2 separate regions of the Homo sapiens genome follow, and region 2 is linked to region 1. The links are contacts of gene promoters, found by promoter capture Hi-C in human tissues and cell types (Jung and others, 2019). All regions are on one chromosome and are shown on one strand. Each heading gives the region's core, a stretch centred on a gene start or on the middle of the fragment in contact. The rest is flanking DNA. Distances are from core to core; before and after follow the strand shown.

Region 1 (7,077 bases), core at 1,310-3,809:
GCATGCGTCACTGCGCCCAGCCCAGATCTTCTTTTTTAACAAGGTTAAAAATATTTAAAAATAAAAATTCCGGGCCAGGTGCAGTGGCTCACGCCTGTAATGCCAGCACTTTGGGAGGCTGACGCAGGTGGATCACTTGAGGTCAGGAGTATGAGACCAGCCTGGCCAATGCGGTGAAAACCCATCTCTAGTAAGAAGACAAAAGTTGGGCCAGGTGCGGTGGCTCGCGCCTGTAAACCCAGCACTTTGGGAGGCCGAGGCAGGCGGATCACCTGAGGTGGGGAGTTCAAGACCAGCCTGACCAACATGGAGAAACCCGTCTCTACTAAAAGTACAAAATTAGCCGGGGTGGTGGCACATGCCTGTAATCCCAGCTACTTGGGAGGCTGAGACAGGAGAATCACTTGAACCCGGGAGGCGGAGGTTGCAGTGAGCCGAGATCTCGCCATTGCACTCCAGCCTGGACAAAAAGAGCAAAACTCCGTTTCCAAAAAAAAAAAAAAAAGACAAAAGTTAGCTGGGTTTGGTGGTGGCCACCTGCATTCCCAGCTATTCGGGAGGCTGAGGCTGGAGAATCACTAGAACCCGGGAAGCAGAAATTGCAGTGAGCCGAGATTGTGCCACTGCACTCCAGCCTGGGTGACAGAGCCAGAATCTGTCTCAAAAAAAAAAAAAAAAAAAATTCTTGCACGGTGAGTAGGGCCTCTGAGTTCCTGTCTGTTTGTCACCCGAAGGTTTATTCTCTTCCAGGTACTCCAAACTCGGACTGTGTCCTGTACACATTCTCAAAGCACCTCCTACTTTTTGGCATCCCTTAATACTTTCACACACACTTGCGTCTGCCCCCTGGGTCAATTCTGACTTCTCAGAGGCCAGGCACTGCATCTGGTTCATCTGGTTGTGTCACTGTGGAATCCCCACCCCCTATCATGTCATGGTATCTGCCTCACAGCAGACCTTCTTTTTTTTTTATGGAGATGTGGTCTTGCTCTGTCGCCCAGGCTGGAGTGCAGTGGCGCCATCTGGGTTCACTGCAGTCTCGATCTCAAGATCTCAAGTGATCCTCTTGCCTCAGCCTCCGAGTAGCTGGGACCACAGGCATGTGCCACTCAATATTTGTTGAATGAATGTATGAATGATATAATGACTGAAGGGGATGGGCTTGGCCTTTGGGTAGAAGACTTTTTTGTTTTTTCTTTGAGACGGAGTTTCGCTCTTGTTGCCCAGGCTGGAGTGCAATGGCGCGATCTCGGCTTACCGCAACCTATGCCTCCCGGGTTCAGGGAATTCTCCTGCCTCAGCCTCCCGAGTAGCTGAGATTACAGACATGCACCACTACGCCCGGCTAATTTTGTATTTTTAGTAGAGACGGAGTTTCTCCATGTTGAGGCTGGTCTCAAACTCCTGACCTCAAGTGATCCGCCCGCCTCAGCCTCCCAAAGTGCTGGGATTACAGGAGTGAGCCACCGCGCCGGGCCGGGTAGAAGACATTTTGTTTATACTTTTACAGAAGGGATTTTCAGGAAAGGGTAGAGGAGAGGAGGAGGGCTGGTGAGGAAGGCCAGCCAAACCCCCCACATTTCCCTGCTCCAGGTTTCTCGGCATTACCTCTTTACCCTCAAGGCTGGACTTAGGGGCTAGGTGAAGCCCTTAGGCTTGGCGTTCAGTTCCTAGATTCTGGGTAGCATGTCTCTATTTTCTCATGTTTCCAGTGGGGATTAGGGTAATATTCACCTGGGAACTGTGAGGAGCCCCTGGGAAGAGAGGGCATGGGGGTTAGAGTGTTTGAGGGGCTGCAGTGATGATCACGGTCTCAGTAACCTCCCCTCACCCACCTCACCACCACCCTCCCTGCCCCGCACAGTCAAAGCCCTCGCACTATTTTGAGGAAACTTTGGTAAGTCAGTTTCTTCCACTCCAGAAGGTCTCAAAGTGTAGTCCCTGGGTGCTTATTGGAAATGCAAATTCTCAGGCTCCACCCTGGCCTTTCGAATCAGATCCTCTGGGGGCGGGGCCCGGCAATACCAGGTGATGCTGGGGTGATGCTGATGCCCTTCCAAGGTTGAGACCTAGTCTCTACTCTGATGTCAGCTCTCCGAGAGACACTCTGGCCTGCTTTGTTCCCTTCCCTGTCCCCAGTGTCTGGCATCGAGTAGGCTGCCATAAATATCTCTGGAGTGCATAGTAACAGTGATGATGATAATAGCAGCTAGCCATTGATTGAAGACCTCTTGTGTGCCGGTCTCTGCGTTAAACATTTCTGGAGGCTTAACTCATTTAAGGAGCTACCCCAGCCATCATTTTCTCAGATGGTGAAACTGAGGTTCAGAGAGGCCAAGCGCCGTACCCAAAGGTCACTCAGCGGGAGAGCTGGCAGGAAACCTCGCGTCTGCCGGTGCCGGCGCCGCCCCTGCCCCTCCCCGGAGCCCGGCGGCCGCGCGTGTCCGCGGCCCTGCGAGGGCTCCCCGGCTCCGGACAGCCCAGGGCGGCCGGGGGAGGAGTGCGCTGCGACGGCCGTGGCGAAAGTGCGGTTGTGGATGCGCGGAGAGGCCGGCAGCGGTGGCAGCGGCAGCGGAGGAGGAAGCTGAGCAGGGCGGCGGCGGCGGTGGAACCTGCGGGGCTGGGGCGCGCGCCATGGGCCGCCTGCACTGCACTGAGGACCCGGTGCCGGAGGCCGTGGGCGGCGACATGCAGCAGCTGAACCAGCTGGGCGCGCAGGTGGGCCCGGCGGCGGGGCGTGGGGCGCGGGGCCCAGGTGATTCCAGGATCCGGGCCTGGGGTGGGGGGGACGTCCGGGGGTGCGCGGGAGTTGGGAGAGACTAGACAGAGCGGCGTCTTGTGGGCGTTTGGGGTGTGTGAGGTGGGTTCGGGGCGAGGCTAAGGTGAGCTGGGGTCTGAGGAGAGTGTGGGGAGCCAAGGGATCTCCGGAGGCCTAAGGGCCACCTGAGGGGTCCGAAAGGCTTTGTGGGGTCTCAGAGATGGGACTACGGGACCTCTGCGGGGTCCTGGGGCCGAGGAGAGCTTTTGGGGTCCTAGAAGAGGGACGGAGGGGAGTCTAGATGAGGCTGAAGGAGTTTGGGGAACTGAAGGAACAGACTAAGGGCGTGGGGAGTTTTGGGGAGCAGTGGGGTCCAAAGGGAGATAGATGTTTGGCAGGGAGGCCGAGGAAGCCTGAGGGGAGTGGGAGGGCCCGAGAATCTGAGGGGGCCCGGGGAAGCTTGGCCTGGGCTGCCGTCTTACATCTCAGTGTGACATGAGTGTCAGTAATAGCCAGGCCCCACTGGGGCTCTGTGGGCCTGAGGGGCTCGATCTGGGACAAGGCTGATGACACCTTCCACCTCCACCCAGTTAAGGAGAGTCACTGGGATTCACATGGAAAGAAACCTTATACACTGTGTACAGTGGGGGTCTTCATCCTCGATGGTAGGGGAGCTAGCAAAGCCTTTTTCTCCCCCTTCAGGCTGCAGGTGCCAACCAAGGCAGTCTTGGAGGCATCCTGCTTCTGTGCTGGTTGGGATGCCTTTTCATACCACCAAGGCTGCTGAAATAGGTGAGAATGACACTTCTCACCCCCACTGGGAAGATACATCTATTTCCCCCGCTAGGTTGTCACTTCCCAGGAGGTAGCGCCCCTCTTCTTTCATCTCCATACCCCCCACAACTTCCCACACAGTAGTGCTGCTTGCGAGATAAAAACCAAACTTAGAACTTGTAACGACAGGAAGGTTCTAAGCTTGAGCTATGCAATAGAAAAATTTGCAAGCCACATTTCTAACTTTGCATTTTGTAGTAGCCACATTTAAAAATTAAATAGAAATGGAAATTAATTTTTTTTTTTTGAGACGTAGTCTCATTCTGTCACCCAGGCTGGAGTGCAGTGGCGCGATCTCGGGTCACTGCAACCTCCGCCTCCCAGGTTCAACCAGTTCTCTGTCTCAGTCTCCCGAGTAACTGGGACTACAGGCACACGCCACCATGCCCAGCTAATTTTTGTATTTTTAGTAGAGATGGGGTTTGACCATGTTGGCCAGGCTGGTCTTGAACACCTGACCTCAGGTGATCTGCCCACCTCAGCCTCCCAGAGTGTTGGGATTACAGGCGTGAGCCACTGTGCCCAGCCCTGAGTTTATCTTATGCAAGCATCCTAGAGTTTATTTACACAAACCTACTGCACCCTAGGATATATGGTATAGCGCATTGCTCCTAGGCTACAAACCTATACAGCATGTGACTGTACTGAATACCATAGGCAACTGGACTATAATGGTAAATATTTGTGTGTTTAGACAAATCTAAATAGAAAAGGTACAGTACAAATACAGTATAAAAGATAAAAAATAGGCCGGGCACGGTGGCTCACACCTACCCTAGGACTTTGGGAGGCCAAGGTGGGCGGATCACAAGGTCAGGAGATCGAGACCATCCTGGCCAACATGATGAAACCCTGTCTCTACTAAAAATACAAAAATTAGCTGGGTGTAGTGGCGGGCACTTGTAGTCCCGGCTACTCTGGAGGCTAAGGCAGGAGAATCGCCTGAACCTGAGAGGTGGAGGTTGCAGTAAGCTGCGATTGCACCACTGCATTCCAGCCTGGGCAATAGAGTGAGACTTCATCTCAAAAAAAAAAAAACAACTTTCTAGTTGGGTACGGTGGCACAGCTACCACAGTAGTCCCAGCTACTTGGGAGGCTGAGACAGGAGGATCACTTGAGCCCAGGATTTCAAGGCTGTAGTGCATGGTGATTCCACCTGTGAATAGCCATTGCACTCCAGCCTGGGCAGCATAGTGAGACCCCCATCCCTAAAAAAAAATTTTTTTTTTTCTGTTTTTGATAAGTTGACCTTAGCCTACTGTCAGTTTTTTTTTGTTTGTTTGTTTGTTTTAGACGGAGTCTTCCTCTGTCACCCAGGCTGGAGTGCAGTGGCGTGATCTTGGCTCACTGCAAACTTCACCTCCTGGGCTCAAGTGATTCTTTTGCCTCAGGCTCCCAAGTAGCTGGGACTACAGGCGTGCACCACCATGCCTGGCTAATTTTTGTATTTTTAGTAGAGACAGCGTTTCACCATGTTGGCCAGGCTGGTCACGAACTCCTGACCTCAAGTGATCTGCCTGCCTCAACCTCCCAAAGTGCTGGGATTACAGGCGTAAGCCATGCACCCTGCCAACTGTAACTTTTTACTTCATGAATGCTTACCTTTTTTTTTTTTTTTTGAGGCAGGGTCTCGCTCTGTCACCCATTGCTCACTGTAGCCTTGATCTCCTGGGTTCAAGCAATCCTTCCACCTCAGCCTCCCAAATAGCTGGGACTATAGGCACGCGCCACCATACCTGGCTAATTTTTGTATTTTTTGTAAAGACAGAGTTTTGCCATGTTGCCCAGGCTGGTTTTGTTAAACTTTTTGGCACTTTTGTAGTAACACATAGCTTAAAACACAAACATGGCTGGGCGCGGATTTCTGTGACAATCACTAGGTAACAGGGGATCTTTTACCTCCATTATAATGTTATGGGACCATCATTTTATATATGGTCCATCATTGATCAAAATGCCATGCATGCTTAAATCCACAATATCAAAATATTTTTCAATATCTTACCCATATACAAATATCAATGACATTTTACTTTTTGGTACAAAGTTTTCTAAATCTGGTGTTTTACACTTACGGCACATCTTAAAGTAGTTTAGCCCTTTTCTTTTTTTTTTTGAGACAGTGTCTGGCCCTGTTGCCCAGGCTGGAGTGCAGTGGCGTGATCTCGGCTCACTGCAAGCTCCGCCTCCCGGGTTCACGCCATTTTCCTGCCTCAGCCTCCCAAGTAGCTGGGACTACAGCTGCCTGCGACCATGCCCGGCTGATTTTTTATATTTTTAATAGAGATGGGGTTTCACCGTGTTAGCCAGGATGGTCTCGATCTCCTGACTTCATGATCTGCCCACCTCGGCCTCCCAAAGTTTTGGGATTACAGGTGTGAGCCACCGCATCCGGCCAGCCCTTTTCTTTTTAAAGACAGTCTCGCTTTGTTGCCCAGGCTAGAGTGCGGGGATGTGATCTCGGCTCACTGAAACCTCCGCCTACAGGGTTCAAGTGAGTCTCATGCTGCAGCCACTCAAGTAGCTGAGATTACAGGTGTTCACCACCATGCCCATCTAATTTTTTCTTGTATTTTTAGTAGAGATGGGCTTTCGCCATGTTGGTCAGGGTAGTCTCGAACTCCTGACCTCAAGTGATCCACCCACCTTGGCCCCCCAAAGTGCTGGGATTACAGGAGTGAGCCACCACCCCTGGTCAGATTAGCCCTTTTCAAGCGCTTATGTGGCAAGTGGCCACTGGACAATAGGGATCTAAGTGCTTTTATGTATTTTTTTTTTTTTTTTTTTTGATACAGAGCCTTGCTCTGTCACCGAGGCTGGAGTACAGTGGTGCAATCTCGACTCACTGCAAGCTCCACCTCCCGGGTTCACGCCATTCTCCTGCCTCAGCCTTCCGAGTAGCTGGGAGTACAGGCACCCGCCACTACTCCCTGCTAATTTTTTGTATTTTTAGTAGAGATGGGGTTTCACCGCTTTAGTGAGGATGGTCTTTATCTCCTGACCTCGTGATCCGCCCGCCTCAGCCTCCCAAAGTGCTGGGATTACAGGCGTGAGACACCGCGCCCAGCTTATGTATGTTAACTAATTGAGTCCTTGCAATCACTTTTATAGGTAGTTGCTGTTATTATTTTAAATTGAGACAGGGTCTCCCTATGTTGTCTAGGCTTGTCTTGAACTCATGGTCTCTGGTGATCCATCTTGGCCTCCCAAGGTGATGGAATTACAGGCATGAGCCACTGCACCCAGCCACTTATTATTATTCACATTTTACAGACGAAGAAACTGAATCACAGAGCAGTGAAATGAACATAGCTATTATACGATATTAATATATTGAGCATGCACCATGTGGCCAGGCACCATTTTAAATGTATGCATAACAACTCTAAAAGGAAGGCACTATTATTATTCCCATTTTACAGTTAAGAAAGATGGTTCAGAGAAATAAATTGACCTGTTTAAAGTCATGTAGACAGGAGTTCAA
Region 2 (7,077 bases), core at 2,022-4,521, 460 kb after region 1:
ACAAAATGCAAGTGCTGCAAATGTCTTGCCAAAAACTTTAAAAATAAAAGCCACACCCACCATGATTATCACTGGTTCCCTCTCTAATGCAAATTATGAGTTAAATAAATCAGCATGCTAAAGATAGATCTTCCTGTGTGAAGAGCTCAATGTCCGCAATCAGTGTGACAAAGTGAGAAGACACAATGTGTCACCATGATTAACTGAACCTTAAACATGAACATCCCAAGCTGCTGTGCAGATGTGTGATGCTGATAAGATGAGCTGATTGTAATGCTCTCTGACTGCCAAGAAATACGCTCTAAAAGCCACACCCGAAAGGTCTGGGAGAAAGCTCAGTATGAAGTCACCAAGAAAGAACAAAATATCACCCAACTCAAGGTTCAGTCTTGTGGGCAGGGCTGGAAGGGCTTTGGGAAGAACTGTCCTATATCTTTATTTTACATATATATATGTATGCGCAAGACAGAGGCCTAGAGAGGTTGAGTCACTTGCTCCAAGTCACACAGCAAGTAGCAGAATTGATAGAATCCTGCCTTTACCCAGTTCCCACCATCCTTTCAGGTCAAAATTTCCTATAATGGCATAGTCCTCGACCAATATATCTTTCTGAGAGTCTAGAAAGACAGGAGGTGTTGAAAGGAAAATAATGAGCCCACAGGGCAGAGAGAGAAAACTGAGGCACAGTGAGATGGAATGTTTTAACAATTAGTTGGCAGGTGTTATATGGGACTTTATCCACTATCTTCTCACCCAGTGTAGATATTTATCACCAGAATCAAGAAACAGCTTAGAGCTAAATGACTCAGAATACAAGCTCACAGTTCCTACCTGCTTCAGCTGTTCGGACCCTGAAGTTAGATCACTAAGAAGTGTGAGAGGTAGCTTATCTGACCAAATGAGATATCTGTTTGCGGCCTCATCAGTCAAGTAACTGACACCCATCTAGCTCAGAAGTTTTTCCCTTGATTTTCTCAAACATTCTTTCAAGTCACTGTTTTTTTTTTTTTTTTTGGTCATCATTTAAAATTAGTTATGCAGGTATGGAAGAGAAAGGCCTTTGACAAGACAGCTAAGATGTGGTCACTGCCCACCTGAAAAACAGATGAACACGCGAATGAATGGTAGAAAGAGCAATAGACTTGGAGTCAGCAGATGTCAGGAAGTTACTGAACTTTTCTGAGCCTCTACTTTCCTCTTCTGGAAATCTGTGTTACAGGATTGGTGTGAGGTCTAAATCTAAATGAAACAACATGTGTAAAGTGCTTACAACAGTGCTTGGCTAATGTATCTTAGCTACGACTATTACCTTCATTGTCATTATCATTGGTAAGTCTTAGTTTTGCTACTGATTACCTAGGTGAGAGCATCTCAAACTTTTAATGTGCACAGGAAACATCCGGGATCTTGGTAAAAGGCAGGCTCTGATTTATTAGATCTGGGCCTTGTTATTGTTGTTGTTTTCTTCTTCTTCTTCTGTTTTTAAAAATACAGAGGAGGTCTCACTGTTTTGCCCAGGTTGGTCTCGGACTCCTGGCCTCCAGTGATCCTCCTGCCTTGACCTCCCAAAGTGCTGGGATTACAAGCGTGAGCCACTACACCCAGCCTAGATTCTGCATTTCTGACAAGGTCCTGGGGACATGGTACATCTGTCACAGAGAACACACTTTGAGCAGCAAGGATCTCCCTAACTCAGCACCTAGAAAATGCTCAATATTACTGACAAAAACAAGTGACCTCTCCACACCACAATGTCTTCATTTGTAAACCAGGGATAATATGTAGTCCAGATGATCTCAACTGATTGACAATTAGTAAATGAGAATGCACAGGAAAGAGCGTTCTAAACTGCAAAGTTATACAAATAGCAGTGGTGGCCAGGTGCTGTGGCTCATGCCTGTAATCCCAGCACTTTGGGAGGCTGAGGCAGGAAGATTGCTTGAAGCCAGGAGTTTGAGACTAGCCTGTAACATAGCAAGACCCCATCTCTACAAAAAATAAAAATTAAAAACAAAAATTTTTTTTTTTTAATTAGCTGGGTGTAGTGGCATGCACCTGTAGTCTCAGCTACTTGGATGGCTGACGTGGGAGGATCGCTTGAGCCCAGGAGTTGGAGGTTACAATGAGCTATGACTGCACCACTGCACTCCAGCCTGGGCAACAGAGTGAGACCAAGTTTTCTAAAAAAATTAGCGGCTCATGCCTGTAATCCCAGCACTTTGAGAGGCCAAGGTGAGTGGATCACTTGTGGCCAAGACGCCTGGACAATACAGTAAGACCCGTCTCTACAAATTTCTTTTTTTTGAGATGGAGTCTCACTCTGTCACCCAGGCTGGAGTGAAGTGGTACAATCTCAGCTCACTGCAACCTCCGCTTCCTAGGTTCAAGCGATTCTCCCGCCTCAGCCTCCGAAGTAGCTGGGACTACAAGCATGCACCACCACACCCGACTAATTTTTGTATTTTCAGTAGAGATGGGGTTTCCCCATGTTGGCCAGGCTGGTCTTAAACTCCTGATCTCAGGTGATCCACGTGCCTCAGCCTCCCAAAGTGCTGAGATTACAGGTGTGAGTCACCATGCCTAGCCATCTACAGAATTTTTTTTTTTTTTGAGACGGAGTCTCACTCTGTCGCCCAGGCTGGAGTGCAGTGGTGCGATCTCAGCTCACTGCAACCACCACCTCCCGGGTTCAAGCGATTCTCCTGCCTCAGCCTCCTGAGTAGCTGGGATTACAGGTGCGCACCACCACGCCCAGCTAATTTTTGTATTCTTAGTAAAGAAGGGGTTTCACCATGTTGGTCAGGCTGGTCTCAAACTCCTGACCTCGTGATCTGCACACCTCAGCCTCCCAAAGTGCTGGGATTACAGGCATAAGCCACCACACCCGTCCCCAAAACATTTTTTTTTAAATTAGCCAGGCACGACAGTACATGCCTGCGGTCCCAGCCACTCAAGAGACTGAGGTAGAAGGATCACTTGAGCCCAGGAGTTCAAGGCTGTGGGGGAGCCATGATCACACCACTGCATTCCAACCTGGGTGACAGAGGGAGTCCCTGTCTCCAAAATGAATAAATTTATTAAATTTAATTAAATAAACAAGTGGCAGTGATAAGACTATTAGTTTTACTATTCACAATGTTGAATGTACAACCCTGTAATGCCCAGATTTACAAGTACAGTTACTGGAATACATAACAATGAAGCTCGAATTCCCTTGCTCAGAAGAGATTCAAGAATCCTCTAGGAATTCTGGTAGAGTACAATAGGTTTTCCAGGGATTCTGAAGTCAAAAGCTCTGAAACTTCAGAACTGTCATTTGGTGACCAGGAAAGAACCACTTTGGCAGGGAGAATGTGGCCATTTGGCACACCAAGTGAACTTCACTAGTGATTCCGCTCCCTCTTCCAGAGCTGGCCAGGCTCCCTCAGCCAAGATCCCGAGTCAGCACTGCAATGCCAACAGCACAAGACAGAAAGACAGATGGGTACTGCCCTGGCAAAGCCCACACCTGCCGCTCCACAGGCTGGCAAAAAGCCAGACTGTAGAAAAGCAGGACTTTTTTTTTTGGTTCACAGTAAGAACGTCAAGCTTCAATCAGTTGCACCTGGCTAGCTTCTGCCAGCATAATCTGGGATTTCCTCCCCACAGACTATAAAGTATGATGCTTATACCTTGTGCCTCTCCTCTACAGGGTTCAAAATAAACTATGAATAATTCTTCCTCATAGGGCCCCTTACCAAAAAGTCCTTTCATCATTTCAGAGGCAGATGGCATCTCTAACATCTACTTAATTGCTCAGGCCAAAAACCCAGGAGTCATCCTTATTCTCTCACCCTCATCCCGCCATCCTGCTGGTTCTACCTCCGAAACACATCCCCAATCCGTCCTCTTACCATCTCCACTGCCACCAACCTAGAAAGCCACTATCTTCTCTCACCTAACCTCTTAACTAGCCTCCTGGCTGCCACTCCTATGCCCTCTAAAATTCACTGCCACAAAGAGGCCAGAGTGATTTTTTTAAAAAACAAAAATAGATCATGCCACGTCCCTTCTCCAGAACCTCCAATGATTTCCACAGCTTTTAGAACAAAATCCCAACTCATTACTCTAGCAGACAAGGTCCTGTATGATCTGAGCGCTCCCTACCACTTCCATCCCCTACATCCACCCACCTCCCCACTCTGCCTTTGACTCACCTGTCCCTGCCATTGTAAGCCTTCTTGCAGTTTCTGGAACTTACCAAGCTTGTTGCCACCTCACAGCCTTTACCCTTGCTCTTCCTTCTGACATGTCTTCAAATGGCTGGCCCGTCCCTGGGAGCAAATCTCAGCAAAAACGTCACCATCCTAGCAAGGCCTTTTCTTTTTCTTTTTGTTTGTTGGGTTTTTTTTCTTTTTGAGATGGAGTCTCGCTCTGTTGCCCAGGCTGGAGTGCAATGGCGCAACCTCGGCTTACTGCAGCCTCTGCTTCCCAGGTTCAAGCAATTCTTGTGCCTCAGCCTCCTGAATAGCTGGGACTACAGGCACGTGCCACCACACCCAGCTAAGTTTTGTATTTTTAATAGAGATGGGATTTCACCCCAGCACTTATTCCTCATCCAAATTCCCTTGTTCATTTACTGCTGTATTTTTCTGTTTGCTGCCAGTAGAATATAAGCTGCATGAGAGCAAGGGACTCTGTACCTTTCTACCATGATATCTCCAGGCTAAAACAGAACTGACACATTCTAGGTGCTCAGGAAATACTGAATAAATACAATCCGGGCAGGATAGTGGTAAGTACACTGAATTTGAAGACAGAAGACTGGATTTCAACGTGAAATGGGCCACTCAATAGCATCATGGCTTCTTGGCTTCCATTCAGATTCCTCGACTATAAAACAGAGATCCTAATCTGCACCTTACCTTCCTTGAAGGGACACAGATAAGATTAAATGAGTAAAAGCATGTGTAAGCAAGTGTAGGCATTTTTGTAAGCCATTAGGCACCTTATTGTTATTGTCAAGTATTGCTACTCTCTGTTACATAAGACGGGGTCTTTCTCAGGGACTTGCGAATTAATGGATGAAAAGGCTTAGGAAGCAATCTGAGGTTTCTAATCCAGGCACCTAACAGAAGTCTAGGGACACAACAAAACAGATTAGAATCAGTGGCTTCACTCTGCAGCCAAGGCAAACATAAGATATGAATTCATTTAAAGATGTCAAATGCAGTAATTTGCAAATTAAGCTCTGAGTTCCTCGAAGGATATGGAGATGGGATTGACCTCCACATCCTCCATGTGCCTAGCATAAGGGGATTTAGCAAATATTTACTGAATTGGATGTTGAGCTACTAAACCTAACGTCCTACCATCAGCTTTCATCTTTCTTTCTTTTTTTTTTTTTTTTTTTTTTTTTTGAGACGGAGTCTTGCTCTGTCGCCCAGGCTGGAGTGCAGTGGCGCAATCTTGGCTCACTGCAAGTTCCACCTCCCCGGTTCACGCCATTCTCCTGCCTCAGCCTCCCGAGTAGCTGGGACTACAGGCGCCCGCCACCATGCCCAGCTAATTTTTTTTTTCTTTTAGTAGAGATGGGGTTTCACTGTGCTAGCCAGGATGGTCTCGATCTCCTGACCTCGTGATCCACCCGTCTTGGCCTCCCAAAGTGCTGGGATTACAGCCGTGAGCCACCATGCCTGGACAGCTTTACCTTTCTTTGCAACCCATTGTGGCACATGATTACAGGTTCCTGGGGCCAACTGTATAAAAATATCAACATTTATATAATGCCATGATGGCTACTGTTTCATGCTTGCAATGACATTATGGTTGACGGACCTGGTATTATCACATACTTTAATTTATTCTTTCACCAACCATACACGGAAAATACAGCACAAGCACCACGTTAAACCCAAATAACGATAGCTAATGTTTACCAAATATGCTGGGCACTTCACATATATTAAGTTCAAATAAATCCTCAGAACAGCCATACATGATAATAAGGCCACAGGTAATAAGGCCTATTACTATCCCCATTTTACAGATGAGGAAACTATACCACCAAGGGGTTCAAAATGAACTATGAATAATTCTTCCTCACAGAGCCCCTTACCAAAAAGTCCTCTCATCATTTCAGAGGTACTGAGCATCATTTCAGAGGTAAAGTAGCACCTCTTTGCTCAGTAGCACACAGCTTGGAAGTGGCAGAGCCAAGATTTTAGTCCAGGTAGTCTGATTGCAAGCTTTTAACCACAACTGCATAACAGCACTGAAAGGGCCTTCAGTATAATCTAGCCTAGTCCCCTCATTTTAATGAGGAGGGAATGAGGGACAGAGAAGCCCTCTTTTAAAGATTCCAGCTCTCAGGCTGGGCACAGTGGCTCATGCCTGTAATCCCAGTCCTTTGGGAGGCCAAGGCAGGCGATCACCTGAGGTCGGGAGTTTGAGACCAGCCTGACCAACATGGAGAAACCCCATCTCTACTAAAAATACAAAATTAGCCGGGCATGGTGGCACATGCCTGTAATCCCAGCTACTTGGGAGGCTGAGGCAGGAGAACTGCTTGAACCAGGGAGGCGGAGGTTGCAGTGAGCTGAGATGGCACCATTGCACTCCAGCCTGGGCAACAACAGCAAAACTCCGTCTCAAAAAAAAAAAAAAAGATTCCAACTATTTTCTGAGATCCTCACTTTGGGTGGTATCTATTTAAATAAAGCTTTACCTGAGATCTTGTTTCCTTGCCTTTTAACTTCTAGCCAGTTAAAAGTAACAAAAGAATACCCCTGTGGCCTTATAATAGCAACTGTTGCAAAATCAGAGGCAACAGTGAATGGGGGATAAAATACAGGATTTACCTAGAAACACGTCCACTTCCATCACTTAATAGATACAAGATTCTTAGGCAATGACTGGGTGTGGTGGCTCACGCATGTAATCCTAGCACTTTGGGAGGCCGAGGCAGGTATATCACTTGAGGCCAGGAGTTCGAGACCAGCCAGGCCAACATGGTGAAACCTTGTCTCTACTAAAACTACAAAAATTAGTGGACGAGGTGGTGAACATCTGTAGTCCCAGCTACTCGGGAGGCTGAGG

Evidence for each region. Contacts are between HindIII fragments. The study calls those that stand out against the background at their distance.
Region 2: a contact is called between a fragment that was not itself captured here and the fragment with the promoter of COMMD7 in region 1, in 2 of the 25 tissues and cell types used here (dorsolateral prefrontal cortex and mesenchymal stem cells).

What each region holds. Positions count from the first base shown.
Region 1 is chr20:32,738,949-32,746,025 of GRCh38, reverse strand. COMMD7 (COMM domain containing 7) reads left to right here and starts at 2,559. Exons shown (of 9, transcript NM_053041.3): 1 at 2,559-2,718. The coding sequence starts at 2,635. RefSeq lists enhancers at 1,064-2,008, 2,896-3,723, 4,393-4,894 and silencers at 2,304-2,533, 2,714-2,783, 3,768-3,942. The HindIII fragment of the contact is 4,810 bases long and covers 1-3,475 here.
Region 2 is chr20:32,279,037-32,286,113 of GRCh38, reverse strand. All of the region lies in intron 1 of KIF3B (kinesin family member 3B), which reads right to left. Among named protein-coding and RNA genes, the nearest start is that of KIF3B, 4.9 kb to the right of the region's middle. The HindIII fragment of the contact is 6,386 bases long and covers 79-6,464 here.